Regions from separate parts of the Homo sapiens genome. Here region 2 is linked to region 1. Evidence: promoter capture Hi-C in human tissues and cell types (Jung and others, 2019). All regions are on one chromosome and are shown on one strand. The core of a region is centred on a gene start or on the middle of the fragment in contact, and the rest is flanking DNA. Distances in the headings are between cores, read along the strand shown. Region 1 holds the start of LCMT1 (leucine carboxyl methyltransferase 1). Region 2 overlaps CACNG3 (calcium voltage-gated channel auxiliary subunit gamma 3).

Region 1 (5,583 bases), core at 1,045-3,544:
GCTTCACTTTGTGTCAGATCCTCTGCATCGATAATCTCATTTAATCCTGACACCCATAAAGGTTACCTTTATTATCACTGTTTTAAAAATGAAAAGACTAGGCTGGGTGGGGTGGCTCATGCCTGTAATCCCAGCACTTTGGGAGACCAAGGCGAGCGGATCACTTGAGTTCAGGAGTTCGAAACTAGCCTGGCCAACGTGGTGAAGCCCTGTCTCCACTAAAAATGCAAAAATTAGCTGGGCATGGTGGTGTGTGCCTGTGATCCCAGCTACTTGGAAGGTTGAGGCAGGAGAATCACTTGAACCCGGCAGGTGGAAGTTACCAGGAGCCAAGACAGCTGTGGCCAATAGCAACTGAAAGCCACAGAAGAAAAAGCTGAGTATAATCCACTCAAATTCACAAATTTCATAAGGGACTCTCTCTAAGACTTTAATACTTGTGTATTTATTAATTTAATCAATCACCACTTACATGGACTACATGCCAGACACTGCTCCAAGTGCTCTACTAATATTAAATATCATTTTTGTCCACACCCACCTATGATGCGTTATTATACTCCCCATTTTACAGATCAGGAAACTGAGCCACAGAAAAGTTTAGTAATTTCCCCGACTTTATACTGCCAGTAAGTGGCAACGCTCAGTTTGACAGAGTCTAGCTCCAGAATCCATGCTCTGAAAGTTTAGTCCCCAAGAACCTATAAAAAGTGCAAGGTTTAATCCAACACACTGGTTTTCCCCACTCTACAATCACTACGTGGCCTCAGCCTCCTTCTCCCACCTTTAAAGCATTTTTTGAGTTCCTCTAACAGTTCACACTCCTCTGAACACTCTCCTACAACTTTCCTATTTTTCAAGCCTTTTCTTCTCACTTTTTTTTTTTTTTTTTTTTGAGACATAGTCTCGCACTCTCATCCAGGTTGGAGTGCAATAGCGTGATCTTGGCTCACTGCAACCTCTGCCTCCCGGGTTCAAATGATTCTCCGGCCTCAGCCTCCCGAGTAGCTGGGATTACAGGCGCCCGCCACCACACCCAGCTAATATTTGTATTTTTAGTAGAGATGGGGTTTCACCATGTTGGCCAGGATGGTCTCGAACTCCTGACCTCGTGATCTGCCCACCTCGGCCTCCCAAAGTGCTGGGATTACAGGCGTGAACCACCGCGCCCAAACTCTTCTCACCTTAAACATCACTGACAAAATTACAAACTCTAATGGCACTGCCGTATTTGTCAGCACTCAACACAAAAAAATCATAATTATATATTTCATAGGTAATTATTTGCTTCCTGTCTCTCTTTTCCAACAAAGCTGTGAGTTCCAGTATGTCTGACACCATGTCTGTCTTGTTCTTGGTGTATTTCCACCATCGAATTCCTACTAACCACTGCAAAGTAAAGGCCTGGCACAAAGTAAGGTCTCAAAAAATTTTGTTGAATGAAAGAATAAATGGTGGACATTCAAGCCTCAAGCTTTCTCTTTCTCTGACACGTACCTCTGCTGGCTACGCCCCCATCCCCACCACCACACCCTTAACAGTGGAGACTTAGTGCGGTACTGGCTCTGCAAAGAGATATTACTTGGCTCTGGGTGGGTTATTTCCCCTCGTCATCCTGAGTTTCAGGTGCACAACAGGGATCACACCAACCCCCTAAAGAATGCAACCTACAAAAGAGAGAGAACCTACACCTCTCATCCTCGTAACCCATCGAGGCTGGAGCTACTATTTGCTTCATGTCTGTCTTTCCAGCAGCGTTTAGCTCCAAGAAGCCCAAGGCCTCGTCTGTCTGGCTCAGGGGCCTGCTCCCATCGACGATACCCAGGCTGGCCCCCTGCCTGGCTCACAGCAAAAGCTCAGAAACGATTCGTTAAATAAATGAAGCCCTGCTCCGTGCACTTCACAGGTGGGAAGCGAGGGTCGTGCGAGGCGGGGGCTGCATCCCTGCCAGCCTTGAGCGTATTCTTCAGATGCAGGCCCACCTCCCACCTAGGCCCGCGCCCCAGATGCCGGCCCCGAACCCCGCGCCCGACAGGCACCTCTTGCACAGGGAAGCATCTTCGCAGGTGCCGCGCACGCCCTCGTCGTCTGCGTCGCAGCTCGAGGTGGAACAGCAGGAGGTGATAGAGGATTCCCTCTGCCTAGTGGCCATGGGCGTGGAGGTTCCTGGGAGCTGTGTCCGCCAGGGACATGGAAGCGGGGTCGACGGGCGGCGGGGGACGGCGCGAGCCACAGGGAGAAAGCAACAGAAGAGGGTAGGGCCCTACCTGGCTCAGCTGGCGCGGCTCAGTGACGCCGCCCACGCCGGCTACCCCAGCAACCTCTCCGCTTATTGGCTCCTCTTCCGAGTCGCTCATTGAGCAATTCTCCTGCCCGCTCAGCCTACGAAGTTGCTCATTGGATAATTATTTTGGCACCGCCCACATAACCCGGAAATTTGACGATAGGAAAAAGAAACTAAACAGTAGGAGAGTATCGCAATCCTTTCTGGGAAGCGTAGTCTTAGGTGTCTGGAGAAGTCGCCCGGTTTCTGCTTGCTGGTCGCGAAATTTTATAGCTATAATTAACTCAGGGCGGAACAGCTAGCAGAATCCTCAGCGTTCGGGCAAAGGGCAGAGAATCCAGCCAGAAGCAACATGTGTAAGTTGTTACATTCAGTCCGGGCTCAGTGTCATTCAATTTTACAAAATTTTGTTGTGTGCTGACTCTGCCAGCGACTGTGCTGAGGGCTTTGCCCCCAAAATTGCCTTCGAAATGTAGTGAGGGGGGCGGGCGTAGTGGCTCACTCCTGTAATCCCACCACTGTGGGAAGCCGAGGCGGGCCGATCACCTGAGGTCAGGAGTTCGAGACCAGCCTGGCCAACATGGTGAAACACCGTTGTTACTAAAAGTACAAAAATTAGCCGGGCGTGGTGGCGGCCGCCTTAGTCCTGGCTACTCAGGAGGCTGAGGCAGGAGAATCGCTTGAACCCGGGAGGCGGAGGTTGCAGTAAGCCCATGTGGCGCCACTGCATTCCGTCCTGAGCGACAGAGCGAGACTCCGTCTCAAAAAAATAAATAAACAAATAAATAAAAGAAAGAAAGAAAAGAAATGTAGTGAGGGAAGTAGTGTGTGGAAAAGTAATACAATAGGAAGCCATGTAGCAGCGATCATAAATGAACTAGAGCTACCAGGTAGCAGCATCAATGGCTGAATCTCAGAAACACGATGTTCAGTGAAAGAAGGAAGTCTAACAACACTTTTGTAAAGTTCAAACCAAGTAAAACTAATGTTGTTTAGAGAAACGTACATATATGGTAAAATACTGTACAGAGAAGGCAAGACATGAGAAAAAAAAATAAAAAAGAATCAGGATATTGGTGATCTTTAGGGAGCCGGGAGGGTAGCACACAAGAGGGGGAGGGAGAGGCAGGGAAGGAGCACATAGACACATCCTCAGTTTCTCACGTGGGAGTGGGTTCACGTGTGTCTGTTTCATTATGAGGCATATTCAAGATGTTTTGGATTTATTTTGTACTAAATCTAGTACAAAATATATGTATAAATTCAAGATGTACTGGGGAAGTCGCCTGGTTTCTTGCTGGTGATGAAATTTTATAGCTATAATTAACTCAGGGCAGAACAACTAGCAGAATCCTCAGTGTTCGGGCGATTGGCAGAGAATCCAGCCAGAAGCAACCCTTGTAAGTTGTATATGTATAATAATGTTTAATATACATTATAAATTAAAAATGTCTTTGTATATTCCATTTTGTTATCTGTCAGTTGTTGGAAGCAGGAAACAGATATACTTTAAGAACTTTGAATTGCACTCATTTTTTTAAAAAGAAAATCAACAACAGAAACCCAGAATACACACCTTGGAGTGAGGTCAAATATCAAATGCTAGCTCAGTATTCTAATGGAGGCACAAGATCTCATTGATAGCCACAGTAGAAATGACAAGAGGGGAATGACTAAGGGTGGAGAGCTTTGCCAGGGGGAATGCTGATGGGATGAAATACACCATTTTCTTGGAGTGGTCCTTTGCCAAAAGGGTAATACAAACTATTGCACAAGCATCATCTCCCAGCTTAGCAGTGTCCACATTCCACGGGTGTTAGTGGATAGTAAGTGTTAACAGCAAGTACTATACGGTGTTAATCCCACAGGTCTGGACAGTGAGACTGGGGGTGACTGGAAGAAGGCGGAGGCAGATGGGTTTATACACTTTTGTTGTTGGATGAGCCTTTGATTCAAAATAGCTGGTGATTCAGAGGAATTTGGCCATCTTCCAGCTGACCTCCAGGGCCAGCTCATTCCATGTAAGTTCCTGGTTGAGGATCTGAAAGTTTATGACAGCGTGGAGTCTGGAGATTGCAAGCTTAGCCATCTCAGGCTAAATGATACCTTAATGCAAGAGACAATGCTGGGGTAGTCTTTGAGCCATATCCCAGCCAGAGAAAGTTCACTGCCAACTAGACTGCATCTTTTGACAAAGTCAGGAGAAGAGTTGTGGAAGTGTAAAAGCTCTTGGACATTAATATTGTGGGCCAAAAGTTAGGCATTCACCATGGAATCTCTCCCCAAAAGGCTACAATGGACAATTGTTGCTTTGGCTCTCCAGTATCTCTTTCTTCTATAAAAAATAGCTAGAGTGGGCTGGGCGCGGTGGCTCACACCTGTAATCCCAGCACTTTGGGAGTCCGAGGTGGGTGGATCACCTGAGGTCAAGAGTTTGAGATCAGCCTGGCCAACATGGTGAAACCTCGTCTCTACTAAAAATACAAAAATTAGCCAGGCATGGTGGCAGGCGCCTATAATCTCAGCTACTAGGGAGGTTGAGGCAGGAGAATCACTTGAACCCGGGAGGTGGAGGTTGCAGTGAGCTGAGATCGTGCCATTGAACTCCAGCTTAGGGGACAAGAGCAAAACTCCGTCTCAAAAAACAAACAAAAAGCTGGCATGGTGGCTCATGCCTGTAATCCCAGTACTTTGGGAGGCCGGGGCAAGTGGATCACCTGAGGTCAGAAGTTCGAGACCAGCCTGACCAACATGGTGAAACCCCATCTCTACTAAAAATAAAAATTAGCCAGGCATGATGGCGCATGCCTGTAATCCCAGCTACTCCGGAGGCTGAGGCAGGAGAATTGCCTGAACCCTGAAGGCAGGGGTTGTGGTGAGCCGAGATTGCGCTATTGTACTCCAGCCTGGGCAACAAGAGCGAAACTGTCTCCAAAAAAAAAAAAAAAAAGCTACAGCTTCTTATGGAAAACTAAGCTTCTCTCCTGGCCAGGCGTGGTGGCTCACACCTGTAATCCCAGTCACCGAGGCGGGATTTGGGAGGCCGAGGCGGGTGGATCATGAGGTCAGGAGTTCAAGACCAGCCTGGCCAACATGGTGAAACTCCATCTCTACTAAAAACACAAAAAATGGCTGGGCATGGTGGTGCGCGCCTGTAGTCCCAGCTACTCAGGAGGCTGAGGCAGAAGAATCGCTTAAACCCAGGAGGCAGAGGTTGCAGTGAGCCGAGATCGTGCCACTGCACTCCAACCTAGGCAACAAGAGCGAAAGTCTGTCTCGAAAAAAAGAAAAAGAAAAAG
Region 2 (5,583 bases), core at 2,110-4,609, 790 kb after region 1:
GACAATATAATGTGTAGAGGTTCAGAGTTTAAAATATTATTTTTGACCCTAATGTGACACTTTCTTCATTAAAAAAGGTAATGCAGGAAGAGTTAAAGAAAAAAAACAAAGAGTGACGTCTCAACTCCTGAGAGACCTGGGCTTGGATTTCTGTTCCCTGCAAACTACATAAACATGTGCAGAATCAAACCTGCAAAACTGGAGCCTATGTTTAACTGTCTGTATAAAGAGCCACACTTTTTGACATTTTGTGAAACGTTAGCATTCTGACTATGTTAAGCTGAGAAAGAGAAGAGAGCCTCCTGGATCTGTCTCCAGCTACCCTGGACTGCTTATTTCAACCTTCGCTGGTCAGCTCTGCCCAGCACTAACAGATTTGCTCCCAAGCAAATCCATCCCGGGCCCTGACATTTATCCGGGGCATCTTTTACTCTCTTCTATTCATTAAGCATGGGTGGTTGCCACGGCAACCATTAACTGCACCTGACATCCAGGAATAGTTCTGGCGTTTTGAGCAAACACCACACTGGGATTTAGTTCTGCAAGGTAAAGACCTGGACGCCTCCCTCCAACTTGCATGGACATCCTGGTGGTTCCCCCACCCCTGCTCGAATCTGAGCTGCCCCCAGGCTTCTTGGGTGAAGAAGGGAAACAGGGCGGTGTCTCCTCCCCCAGATCCCCATTCTCCCTGCCCACTCAGCCCTTAGGATCTTTGCTAGTTGCCATATGATGGGGGTGTGGCGGGGGCTGTCTCTGAGTGGGGTGAGCCTACGAAAGGGTGTATGTGTGTATGTGATGAAGTCGGGGTGAGAGTGGAGGGCATCCCAGGTTATCAGAGGTGGACGCAGACGCATTTTGGAAGAGCAAGGAATGTAAATGGGCACACGATGCCCGCCTGTGGATGTGACTCTGTGTGGGTGCACTGGTGAGTACATGTCTTATGGCTGCCAGGCCTTTGCAGCTGATGCTCTTTCTGCCTGGACCACTTTCTCCCAGCCCTTCACGGGGCCGTCAGGTCCTCACCTCACTTGAACATCTCCAGTCACTTTCTTTGCTAAGCTTACGATGATCCGTGAGTATGCGAAATATCTTGTTTATATTTATTGCCTAGTTTATTTTCTGACTTCTTATTTCCTAGACTATAAGCACCACTGAATCCCAAATATCCTGCACCCAATCTGATACACAGTAGGTGCTTTATAACTGTGCCCTGAACATCAGACTGTCCTTTGTATATGTCTGCAGGTATCTTGGGCAACTTCTTGTTGGATGGTGACAAAAGTCCTTAACCTGGCCTACGAGATCCTCTGTGATGTGGCCCCAGCCCCTCTCCAGATCTTTCTCACCAAATTTCTGCTGCACAGGCTTTGTTTTATCTTTCCTGCCTCAGGGCCTTTGCACGAGCACCCTCAGCCTCAATTATTTCTCCCTCTCCATCCTGCATTTGAGTAATTTCTATCTGGGCTTCAGATCTTACCAAAAATATGTCCCCAGGCTGATGCCATCCAATAATCTGCCCTCACAGCACCACACCCTGTGCTTCTCTTTCAGGCACATATTACAAAGGATTAATTATGAGTTTAATGATGTGTCTGTTTATTCCTCTCTATTGTAAATCCCAAGAGCATCTCTGTCTTGCTCACCACTGTCTTCCCAGGACCTGGCACATAGTAGGTTGTTAAATAAACAAGTGGACAAATGAATGTATGGGATGAGTACTGCGTATTTCCTTCATGTCTGAATTGTTTTTACTTTGTTTGTTGTCTGAGACAAGGTCTTTCTGTGACACTCAGGAGTGCAGTGGCATGATCATAGCTCACTGCAGCCTCAAACTCCTGGGCTCAAGTGATTTTCCTGCCTCAGCCTCCCATGTAGCTGGGACTACAGTTGCTCACCACTATGCTCCATTACTGTTTTCATTTTTTGTAGAGATGTGGTCTCACTATGTTGCCCAGGCTGGCCTTGAACTCTTGGCCTCAAGCGATCCTCCTGTCTCAGCCCCCCAAAGCATTGGGATTACAGGCATGAGCCACTGCACCCGGCCTGTTTTTTTTGTTTTGTTTTGTTTTGTTTTTGTTTTTTTTGAGACAGGTTCTCACTATGTCACTGAGGCTGGAGTGCAGCGGTACAATCATAGCTCACTGCATCCTTTAACTCCTGAGCTCAAACGATCCCCCCAACCTCAGCCCCCCCATATATATATATATGTATATATTCATAGTATATGTGTGTGTGTGTGTGTGTGTGTATATATATATATATATACACACACACACACACATATATATATTCGTAGAAACAAGTTCTTATTTTGCCCAGGCTGCTTTCGAACTCCTGGTGAGGAGTTCGAAGTGAGGGCTCAAGTGATCCTCTCACTTTGCCCTCCCAAAGTGCTGGGATTACAGGCATCAGTCACAGCACCCAGCCTGGATGAACTGTCCTTTAAGCTTTGTTTATTGGCATCTCTTCACTGCCTGAGACTCTCCTTTTATTCCAGAGCCTCTCTGAGCCCAAGTCTTCTTTTCCTCTTCCTTCTCTCATTGCTATGGCTTTTTTTTTTTTTTTTTTTTTTTTTTTGGTTTGGAGCCCCTGCCTTGGCCACTCCTTAGAGACTTAGGACTCCACCTCTCTGCATGAGGAGGAAGCCAGGCTACCATCACATTTACCGCCACCTCCTTCATCCCCATCACCTGCTGCCATTAGCAGGGAGAGGCCAGCCTCTGTTTCTGGCCTGAGCCTCGAGCCTGGAGCCTCCAGTTAGCGTCATTAGCTAGACTGGTTCAGGATCAGGTGGCAGGGGAGCGAGATCATGGCGTGTTTCTCTGGTCAAGGGGCTAAGGTTACTGGTCTGTACCAGGCATCTGGAGGGAACATCTGTTCTAGCTGCCAGAGGAGCTTCCATTCTCCCTTCCACTGGTAAGGCTACCTTCATTCCACTGTAGGGAATGCCTTCTCTCCCTCTTCAGCCTGTGCAGAGAGTGAGGTGAGCATAGGGTGACTCCATTGTCAGTTTCAGAAGTGGGCATGTGATTCAGTCCTGGCCAATCAGAATTCTAAATTCTCCTGGCTACAGTGGTTGGCTAAGAGGGTGAGCACATGACCCAGATCTGGCCAATCAACATGTCTCACCACCTTGATTGGCGTGATTGGTTCAGGGGAGGGCAAGTGACCAAGTTTGTCCAGTGAAGATAGTCTTGGAACATTGGTTAGAAATGTTGAGAAAGAAAAATTTTGGCCGGGTGTGGTGGCTCATGCCTGTAATCCCAGCACTTTGGGAGGCCGAGGCGGGCGGATCACCTGAGGTCGGGAATTCGAGACCATCCTGACCAACATGGAGAAACCCTGTCTCTACTAAAAATACAAAATGAGCCGGGCCTACTGGCGCATGCCTGTAATCCCAGCTACTCGGGAGGCTGAGGGAGGAAAATTGCTTGAACCTAGGAGGCGGAGGTTGTGGTGAGCAGAGGTTGTGCCATTGCACTCTAGTCTGGGCAACAAGAGCGAAACTCCATCTCAAAAAAAAAAAAAAGAAAAAAGAAAAAACAAAAAAGAAAAATGTTATTTTCCATTGAGTGGCTAAGCTAGTGGGCTGGGGCTACAGTTGCCAAGCCCCCAACCCCCCCACGTTGGAGACAGCAAGCTTGAGGGTGAAATCAAGGCAGAGATTTCAGAATAGAGCTGAGAGGTGTTGACCATCTGAATCTTGCTAATATCATTTGAGTCCCTGGCTCCAGCCATGCTTGAAACAGGTAAACCTTGGGTATTTCAGTTCCATCAGCCAATAGCTTATGTGGCTGCTTACGCTTATTTGAAATGGATTTCTGTACTTTGCAACTGAGAGTCCTCACAAACTGAGAGTCCTCACCTGTTTGGAACAGCAGCACCTACCATTTATTAAGCTCTAACCATGTAATAGTCTCCCAGTCCCAGCTTTGCCTCCATGCCTGCTCTGCAAACCTGAGCAACTCACATTATTACCATTTGTGATCTTGGTTTCCACAGTTGTGAAAAGAAGCTCATAAACTCTACTTTTCCTACCTGTCGGGCTTGTTGTGAGCATCAAAGTGATGGGTATGAGGCGGCTCATAAACTGTGAATCACCAGCCCGTGCTGCATAACAGTACTGGGCACCTTCTCCCAGCCGCAGAGCTCGCTGGGGTTGGCGGGGCTTGCGCTCAGCAATGCATTCCAGCTGATGTACGCCAGCACTGGGGTCTGGCTCCTAGGACTTGGGAAAGGGAGCTCCCAGGGTCCCGAGTGTTTCTGATCTCAGGAGTGTGGGAGAATAGAGTGGGCTAAAGGTTGGTGGTGGGTGACTCTGCTGAATGTTAACTGACGTCCCCCTAACCCTTGTTCCCATGTACCTGATGATGTTTCTTTTGTCCCAGGGAATGAGAACATCTCAGCAGATGCTGTCATGGATCAATGATCCAGACCACATGTACCCACCTCTGCTGTCCCCCAGAATTTAGACACCCCTCAAGGGAAGGAATTGGCTAAGATTAAAGAATTGGCTGATATTAAATTCCTGCCCTCTTCCCCCAGTAGACACAGAACTCATAACATAAATTCATTCATTCATTTCACTCAGTAAATATCTGCCCTGTGCCTGGCATCTCTACAGGCACTGTGGCTCCGCAGGCATGACATAGAGCACTCTTGGTTCTTCAAAGGGGATGGGGAGGACAATGGAACAAATGACTTCCAACAGCAATCAGAGCTAAAAAGACCCTCAACATAAGGGGCTCAGAGTGACCCAGGGTGATGAGGCAGGGAGGAGGTCTTTGAGAGAGCTGTGTGGCCTGAGAGTTGAAAGCGGAAAGAAACAGCCCCCTTGCAAATCAGGGCAAGCAGTGCAGGCAGAGGGAAGAGGAAGGGCTGGCCTTGTAGTAGCATAAGCTGGGGCATGGAGGAACAGAAGAGACCCAGTAGGGAACAGCAGAGTAGAGGGAGAAGGAGAGAAAAGCTGAGAGAAGGCTGAGACCACAGGAGGGAGAGCACATGGGCCACTGAGGAGCATTTATTCCAAGGGCAATGGGGCTTTCAGGGATTAAGCAGGAGAGTGATATGATAGGATATGCATTTTGTAAATGGTCCCTCAGGCTGCCAGATGGAGAATGATCTGGGGTGGGGGCAATGGTGATTTGAGCTAAACTGGCAGCTGGGGAAGTGGGAGAAGCTGTTGCCTTTGGCTACGATGATATTTTTGAAGGCAGAGCCAATGAGACTTGGTGTGTTGGGTCTGGGGAGTGGGGGAAACAGGCACCAGTGATGTCTATGCTTTTTGCCTGTGTATGGCTGGGGTAAGTAGTGGTACTAGGAGATGAGGTGGAAAAACTAGGCAAGAGGCAGATTTAGCAAGGAAATTAAGAAATGAAGTTCACTTGCAGAAAAATAGTTATATTCACACACACCTGGGTTTGTGGGCTGAATTCTGTATCCACTAGAAATACAAGCAAGGCAGATGCGGGTTCAAATCCCAGATCCACCACTTGCTGTGTGACATTGGGACCTTTACCTTTATTGAACTTCAGCTTTTTATACACAGGGATGGCAGTGTCTTTCTAACAGGCTTTATTGTTG

The links. Contacts are between HindIII fragments. The study calls those that stand out against the background at their distance.
Region 2: a fragment that was not itself captured here is called in contact with the fragment with the promoter of LCMT1 in region 1 in 1 of the 25 tissues and cell types used here (mesenchymal stem cells).

The regions. Positions count from the first base shown.
Region 1 is chr16:25,108,453-25,114,035 of GRCh38, reverse strand. It overlaps LCMT1 (leucine carboxyl methyltransferase 1), which reads right to left and starts at 2,294. Exons shown (of 11, transcript NM_016309.3): 1 at 2,040-2,294. The coding sequence starts at 2,152. It overlaps LCMT1-AS1 (LCMT1 antisense RNA 1), which reads left to right and starts at 2,481. Exons shown (of 3, transcript NR_120306.1): 1 at 2,481-2,640. RefSeq lists enhancers at 1,987-2,146, 2,237-2,566, 2,344-2,871. The HindIII fragment of the contact is 11,844 bases long and covers 1-4,812 here.
Region 2 is chr16:24,324,121-24,329,703 of GRCh38, reverse strand. The region is part of intron 1 of CACNG3 (calcium voltage-gated channel auxiliary subunit gamma 3); the gene reads right to left. Among named protein-coding and RNA genes, the nearest start is that of CACNG3, 71 kb to the right of the region's middle. The HindIII fragment of the contact is 3,212 bases long and covers 1,754-4,965 here.